Regions from separate parts of the Homo sapiens genome. Here region 2 is linked to region 1. The links are contacts of gene promoters, found by promoter capture Hi-C in blood cells and fetal thymus (Javierre and others, 2016). All regions are on one chromosome and are shown on one strand. The core of a region is centred on a gene start or on the middle of the fragment in contact, and the rest is flanking DNA. Distances in the headings are between cores, read along the strand shown.

What was found. Contacts are between HindIII fragments. The CHiCAGO score rates a contact against its expected background, and 5 or more counts as called.
Region 2: a fragment that was not itself captured here is called in contact with the fragment with the promoter of DNAJC11 in region 1 in 1 of 17 cell types (monocytes); the score reaches 5.9 in monocytes.

Annotation. Positions count from the first base shown.
Region 1 is chr1:6,699,787-6,703,754 of GRCh38, reverse strand. DNAJC11 (DnaJ heat shock protein family (Hsp40) member C11) reads left to right here and starts at 1,939. Exons shown (of 16, transcript NM_018198.4): 1 at 1,939-2,026. The coding sequence starts at 1,955. RefSeq lists a silencer at 1,703-2,152. The HindIII fragment of the contact is 16,969 bases long and covers 428-3,968 here.
Region 2 is chr1:6,880,850-6,884,817 of GRCh38, reverse strand. All of the region lies in intron 3 of CAMTA1 (calmodulin binding transcription activator 1), which reads right to left. Among named protein-coding and RNA genes, the nearest start is that of CAMTA1, 97 kb to the right of the region's middle. The HindIII fragment of the contact is 3,861 bases long and covers 250-3,968 here.

The sequences.
Region 1 (3,968 bases), core at 690-3,189:
GCTCACGCCTGTAATCCCAGCACTTTGGGAGGCCGAGGCAGGTGGATCACGAGGTCAGGAGTTCGAGACCAGCCTGGCCAATATGGTGAAACCCCGTCTCTACTAAAAATACAAAAATTAGCTGGGCGTGATGGCGCACGCCTGTAGTCCCAGCTGCTTGGGAGGCTGAGGCAGGAGAATCGCTTGAACCCGGGAGGCGGAGGTTGCAGTGAGCCAAGATCGTGGCACTGCACTCCAGCCTGGGCGACCGAGTGAGACTCTGTCTCAAACAAAAAAAAAAAAAAAGAAAGAAATTCTTAAAGACTGTCAAATGTCAGCATGCAGTTTGGCCCTAACCACAGCTCTTTTCTCTGCAAAGGAGAAAAAGGCAAAGCCCATAACATTGCTGGAAGAGCTGATGGACCATGGAAGCTGTTGTGGAGAAGCTTCACACAACTAAAGAAATAGCCCTTAATTTACAACCTGGGCTGACAGTTTGTTTCAGGCTGACTCAACCCACCCGAACAATCTGTCTCAGCACACCGAAGTGTCTCATGCCAAAAGATCCTAAGAGGGCTGGGCAACTTGGAAGGGATGAGACACAGGCCCAGATGGTGCACATCTGGCCAAAAATTAGAAAGAGAAAGAAATCAGCCTCTCAAATCCACAGACAGGTGTTCGGGGCTTCCCAGGAGACCTGCTTATGAAGGGCAACGGGGATGGCTATGGACTGGTGGTTAGTGAAGGAACAACAAAGGTTTCTGAGACTTGCGCAGGTCAGCGGGAACCAAACAGGTGGCAAGAGTGGGCTGCTGTCCACCTTCCCTTGACAATGGCGTCATTTCGAAGACCTTTAAATTATTTAGATTGTTGTAACCAAGACATCTTTAATAATGCACCAAACAGCAGGCACCAGGTTGAAATCAATTAGACTCCACCGATAAATTATAAGGGAGAAATTTACAGGAGAATGGCTCTGGGGTAGGGACTGCAGGTACACATGCCTGCCAGAGACAATTATATCAGGAACCAAATAGTTATTGCTTTGTCATTTAAGCAGCAGAAAAGATGGCCAGGTGCTCCTAAATTAGAGCAATAACAAATAACTAAAATGAGGAGGCCTGTTCTGGGCAGGAAGGCTTCTGGGTGGCCAAGAGAAAAGACAATGGAGGTAGGAACAAATGTCATTTGGGGGATATCTAGGATCCGGATGCACCCTGCACTGGGGGCACCTCGCGCTTCTTCCAGGAGTTTGGGGCCAGTGGGGTAACAGGTGGTATCACAGGGGTTTGTCTCCCAGAGGATGACAATCTCCTGGAGGTGACTTCAAAGTTTCCCTTTCTAGGCAGGACGCGGTGGCTCATGCCTGTAATCCCAGCACTTTGGGAGGCCGAGGATCTCCTGAGTTCAGGAGCCTCAGACCAGCCTGGCCAACATGGTGAAACCGTGTCTCTACCAAAAATACAAAAAAATTAACTGGGCGTGGTGGCGCGCGCCTGGAGTCCCAGCTACTCGGGAGGCTGAGGCAGGAGAATCGCTTGAACCCGGGAGGTGGAGGCTTCAGTGAGCCGGGATTGCGCCACTGCACACACACCAGGCTGGGCGACAGAGTATGACTCCGTCTCAAAAAAAAAAAAAAAAAGCAAAGTTTCCCTTTCTAGTACAGGAAAAGCCCTAGGGAGTCCTGGCTGGATCTCAGGCCCCCGAGGACGCAGCCACGCCGCGTGCCACGCGTCCATTGGGAGCACGAAGAGACACCCGCGTGGTCACCCCGCCAGGGCTGCCTAGGCGCCGCGTCCCGCCCTAGGCCGCGCGGGGGCGCAAAGCGCAGGCGCACTCCCGCCGGGCGCGGACGGCTCCGGGCCGCCAGGGGCCGCTGTGGCGCAGCCGGGCTGGCCCGCGCTGTCCCTGACGCGGATCACTGGCCCCTCTTGAGCACGGCCTTGCCGGTTTGGCGGGGTGAAAGGTTGCGAAGATGGCGACGGCCTTGAGCGAGGAGGAGCTGGACAATGAAGACTATTACTCGTTGCTGAACGTGCGCAGGGAGGTGAGGCCAGCGGCTGGACGCTCTGGGGGCTGAGGCCGAGCCCGGTCGTTCGGGAGGGCCGGGCTGGCGGTGGCCGCCCCACCCCCGCCACGGGAGGCTCGGGTCCGTCGGGGAGGCCGCGTGACCCCGGCGACGTGCACGCCAGCCGCCCGATGGAGGCGTCCCCACCGCCCAGACCCTCCCGCCGGGGGTTCCGGGGCCAGCCTCCGCCCCAGCTCCTGAAGGCCAGTGCGCCGCGTGCACTGTGTCCGGGTAGGGCCAGAGGCCCCCGCACGCTCAAGAGGAAACGGGGGCCCCGAGGAGGCCACCGTAGTGGGGTTAGCAGTCCTCCGAGACCCCGTCTCGCGCTCAGCCCACATACTCGTCCTGGCTGAGGGGCTGTGTCATCGCCCGCCGCCAGCAGGATGGCGAACTGAGTCTCACCCACCAAGGTCAAGGCCACTAGGGAACGTCCTTAGGGCTTTTTCCGGTTCCCGAGTCTTTCGTGGGGACGCTCTGCCTCTGAAGTGGGTCCAGCCTCAGAGGCATGCGTCTCATGCCCTCTTTCATTCCCCTGGACCCGATGTCCAGAAATTGCAGGCAGAGCCTCCGGGACACAGACCCTCGGCTCGGAGGCTGCAGATTAGGAAGAAGCCCTAGGCCAGAAAAGTGGTGCCCTAACAACAGCTTCAACATTCACACCAAGCACTTGTACCCTGTCTCCTCAACGAATAAAAGATAACATGAGAGAGTCTCACATAGCCTGGCAGTAGTAGGGCCCCACTACACTCCTTTGTTCTTGACTAGTCTGGAGTTGAGATAGGTGTGAAGGGCGAGAAGGCTTCCAGGGTCAGGTCATGAGGTGGATCAGTTTCTTTAAGCCGATGGGTCCAGACTTTTCAGCCCTGCCAGAGAATTCCTAATTCCATCTCTCAGGTTTTCCAGTGGTAATGAAAGCTAGCCAAGTTTGGCTATGCTAACCAAAGCGGGTTCAGTGTGTGTTGTCAGTAAATATTAGTCTATGTGATGTTAATAATACAAACTTATCTTGTGTGGGACCACTATGCTGAATGAACTTTGTACTGTTATCTCATTTAATTCTGAGGATAGCTCTTAAGGTAAGTATTATGATAGCCCTTGATTTACACTTGAGGAAACCAAGGCATAGAGAGATTAAGTAGTGTGTCTAAAGTCACACTACTAGAAAGTGCAAGAGCCTGAACTCAACCCAGGCAGTCTGACTCTGGAGCCCAGCTTGTGAGCTCCATGCTAGTCTGTCACCTTACCTTACCAGTCCTTGGACTACAAAGCTGCTAGTTCTGGTACTGTATCCTTGAGTGTCACGCGCGTCCGTGTGAAGAGACCACCAAACAGGCTTTGTGTGAGCAATAAACCTTTTTAATCACCTGGGTGCGTATGGGCTGAGTCCGAAAAGAGAGTCAGCAAAGGGTGGTGGGATTATCATTAGTTCTTATAGGTTTGGGATAGGCGGTGGAGTTAGGAGCAATTTTTTGTGGGCAGGGGGTGGATCTCACAAAGTACATTCTCAAGAGTGGGGAGAATATTACAAAGTACCTTCTTAAGGGCGGAATATCACAAAGTACATTATCACAAGGGCGGGGAGCGTGTATTGTCATAAGGCCAATTGACCAGTTAGGGTGGGGCAGGAGTAAATCACCATGGTGGAATATCTTCAGTTAAGGCAGGACCTGGCTATTTTCACTTCTTTTGTGGATCTTCAGTTGCTTCAGGCCATCTGGATGTATATGTGCAGGTCATAGGGGATATGATGGCTTAGCTTGGGCTCAGAGGCTTGATACTGAGCACCTCATGAAAGAATCCCTCGAATGTATGGGCCACTGTACTATGAGAATGTCCAGTGAAATATCTTTGGGAATTGCAGATTTTGTTAGGCTGCCATAGGGCACCTGGGGGTTCTTGTTCTCATTAATCAACACTTCGG
Region 2 (3,968 bases), core at 931-3,430, 180 kb before region 1:
TGGGATACTGACATGCTCTAGACTGCTTAGACTGCGCATTCCCAGGATTTTAGCACTACAAAATGAACAAGTAATTATTCCTTCAACACATAAGGCATCCAAGAACACAGGGTTCACAAATACTTCCTCAAAATGGGCTCGCTTCCTAACAGTGGGGTTTGTAGGATTTTTGAGGGTAATTTTTGAGAAGAATTCTTTGGTTAATTATGATACTGCAGGCAACAAACTAAAGGGAAACTGAAGTAAGCTTAAACCTGATAAAGGTACAGAATTGGGGCATCCATTAACCTCCTCCTTGGAGGCTTTCATGAGAGGCTCACATGATTAAGATGAAAAGTAACATGTATGCTGCTGAGACGCTCCTGTTTACTCTTTCAAAATATTTTACTTTTTCCTGGCCTACGAGGCTAAAAAATACCTGATATTATCAATTTTTATTCATCTTTAAAAACACATTGTGTGGATCAAAGCCAAACAAAATTGTGTGTGTGTGTGTGTGTGTGTGTGTGTGTGTGTGTGTGTGTGTCTCTAGAGAATAAGCTAAATTCTCTGCATGGTAAAAGGCTGCTAGGTTCAGCCATCGAAGCACATGACCTCTACCAACTGCCATGGTGTCCCCTCCTTCCTCTTCAGCCTTGCTCCCCTCAGAAGGAGTGAGAAATGGTTTTAGATCTACACGGCCAATCCTTCATGAACCACGACCTCCTTGTTCCTTTAAACACTTCCCCTGTGATAATCCTGGACTACACTCCATGACCATCCCATGAGCTGTCCAGTAAGGCAGCCACTGAGCACCTGAAATGTGTCTACTTCAAATTAGAAGGTAATGGAAATATAAGATATATACCAATTTCAAAGACTTCATACCAAAATAAGTAACTTCTCAATTTTTATACTTACTACATGGTCATGTAATGTAGACTTACTGGGTAAAATAAAATATATTACAATATATTATTAAAATTAGTTTCCTTTATTTTTACCTATTAAAAATATGGTTACTAGAACATTAAAAATTACACGTGACTCACTGACACTGCTACTGTACAGCAGAGCCCCTGACCTTGATGTAACCAAAACTGACCCCTCCATGATACCGATTTCAAGCCCTCTATCTACTCTTCGACTATCCCAACTCCAACAACTCCTCGATCCTATTCCTTGAATCCACTGACCCCATGACCTCTTACTGACCCTCAGCTCCTTCATGCCTCCTGGCTCCTTGCCTGGCTTAGACCACATGGTCTATCCTCAATCCTCACATCGATTCTTCTGCGCAATGCTCAACTCCCTTATGCCTCCTCCCTCCACTGTACTCACCTGGCAAAATCCTAATCCCAGGTTAAATCCAACTCCCTGCCCTCTCCTGCCCTCTCCTGCCCTACACTTAGGCTGCCGAAAGCAGAATTCCTTCAGAGCACCAGCTCAGCTCCCTATCCAGTCGTTTTTGCTTGAACCACCTGGAACTGGGCTTTTATTCTCACCATTTCACTCATACAGCTCTTATCAAAGTCACCAACGATCGCCCCGCTACCAAGCCCACAGTGAAACCCGTCTGTTTCTTGCTCCAGCTTTAGCAGCATCTGACATAGATATCACTCTGCTTTGAAACATGAGCTTCCTTGTCCGGGCGCGGTGGCTCACACCTGTAATCCCAGCATTTTGGGAGGCCAAGGCATGTGGATCACTTGAAGTCAGGGGATCGAGACCAGCCTGGCCAACCCAGCAAAACCCCATCTCTACTAAAAATAAAAAAATTGGCCAGGCATGGTGGCACACACCTGTAATCCCAGCTTGGGAGGCTGAGGCAAGAGAATCACTTGAACCCGGGAAGTGGAAATGGCAGTGAGCTGAGACCAGAGGGACATTCTGTCTCAAAAAAGCAAAGCAAAGCAAAGAGAAACATGCACTTCCAGGACACCCCCATCTCCTGTCTTCCTTCTCTGATTGCTTCTCATTCTCCTTTGCCTCCCTTCTACCCGCTTCCCCTTAACATTGGGTGTCCCAGGGCTCCATGTCTGGACTTCTCTATTGTATACACTCCCTAAAAAATTTCATCCAGTCCTACGGCTTTTAGAACCCCCTATATGCTGAAAACACTCAAAATCTAGCTCCAGCCTCAGCCTCTCCTTGAAGTTACAAACTCAAACATACGACTGCCTATTGAACATCTCCACCTGATCTTACAGTCAACAGGTGCAAAACACAACCTACATTCTCTTCACCCCTCCTCCCCAACCTGCTGTTCTCAGTCTTCCTGATCTCAGTAAAGAAGAATAGCATTCTTCCAGTTACTCAGTGCAAAAACACAGTCATCATCCCTGACTCTTCCTATATTAATACAGTCTACCAGCTCTTCCTTTCAAACATAACCCATATATGACCATTTCTTCCTGCTCTGTCCAAGGCACCATCAGTTCTTGCAACAGTCTCCTCACTGGTCTCCCTACTTCTATCCCAAACCAGGGATCAACAACTCTTTTCTGTAAAGGGCCAAACAGTATAGATCTTTCAGCCTCTACAGGCCATATGCTCCCTGTTACAACTACTTAGCTTGGCTGTTGCAGCTCAAAAGCGGCCTCAGATAATACACACAAGAGTGTGGCTCTGTTTCAATAGAACTGGAACTGGACACTGAAATTTGAATTTCATATAATTTTCATGTGAAATAAAATACTGATTTTTTTTCAACCACTTAAAAACATACAAAGCATTCTTAGCTTGCTAGCTATATAGAAACAGGCAGTGGGCCAGAACCTGCCATGGGCTGTGGTCTGCTGGCCCTGCCCTGGAAGATTCTCTGCACTACATTCAGAGTGATTATTTTATTTTATTTTACTTTTATTTTTTTGAGACAGAGTCTCACACTGTCTCCCAGGCTGGAGTGCAGTGGTGCGATCTCCACTCACTGCAACCTCTGCCTCCCAGATTCAAGCAATTCTCCTGCCTCAGCCTCCCGTATAGCTGAGATTACAGGCAACCGCCACCATGCCCAGTTAATTTTTCGTATTTTTAGTAGTGACAGGGTTTCATTATGTTGGCCAGGCTGGTCTTGAACTCCTGACCTCAAGATCCGCCCACACTGGCCTCCCGAAGTGCTGGGGTTACAGACGTGAGCCATCATGCCCAGCCCAGAATGATCCTTTCTGTCATGTCTTTTTCCTGCTCAAAAATCCTCAGGTGGCTTTCCTTCTCTTTCGGCAAAACCAAAAGACCGTGCCAAGCCCTGCGGGGCTGCACAGGACACTACTTCCTGGCTCCTCCCCTCCCGTGCCCCTTCCCACGCTCTGCACAGCAACACAGGCCTCCTTGTCATTCTCCTGGCTTCTCTCTCGCCATTGCCAAATCTATCTCTGTCTATCTCAGCGCCTTTGCTTTTGCAGTTCCCTCTGCTTGGAATACTCACTCTAGACACCTACGTGGTCACGGTGTTGCTTCCTTCAAGTGGTCACAGTGTTGCTTCCTTCAATTCACCTCATGAGAGATACCCGCTCAGTCACACTAGAATAGCATGCACAAACAGACATGCAAGAACCCTCTCACTGTGTACCTTGCTGCACTGTTCACCACACTATCACTGACATTTCTTTCCTTCTTTAGAAATAAACAGATTGGGCAGTTTTTTAAAAGAGAAACAAAATACCACAGTGATTAAGGGCATGAAATCTGGAGTCCAATGACCTGGACAGGAATGCAACAGCACCACTTACTAGCTATGTGACACTGAGCAAGTTAATTCAACTTCTCTGTATCTCGGTTTCCTTGTCTATGAAATGGGGATAATGACAGCAGCTACTTCCTCAGTATTCTGAAGAGTGAGTTAATAAATGTAATTGGCATATATAAGCACGCAATTACTGTTATTTATTTTTGTTTTTGTTTATTGTTTATTATTATTCCTCTCCCCCAACCAGAAAATAAGCTCTTCGAGGGGAATAACATGGTTTTGTTTATTGCTTCATTCTAGA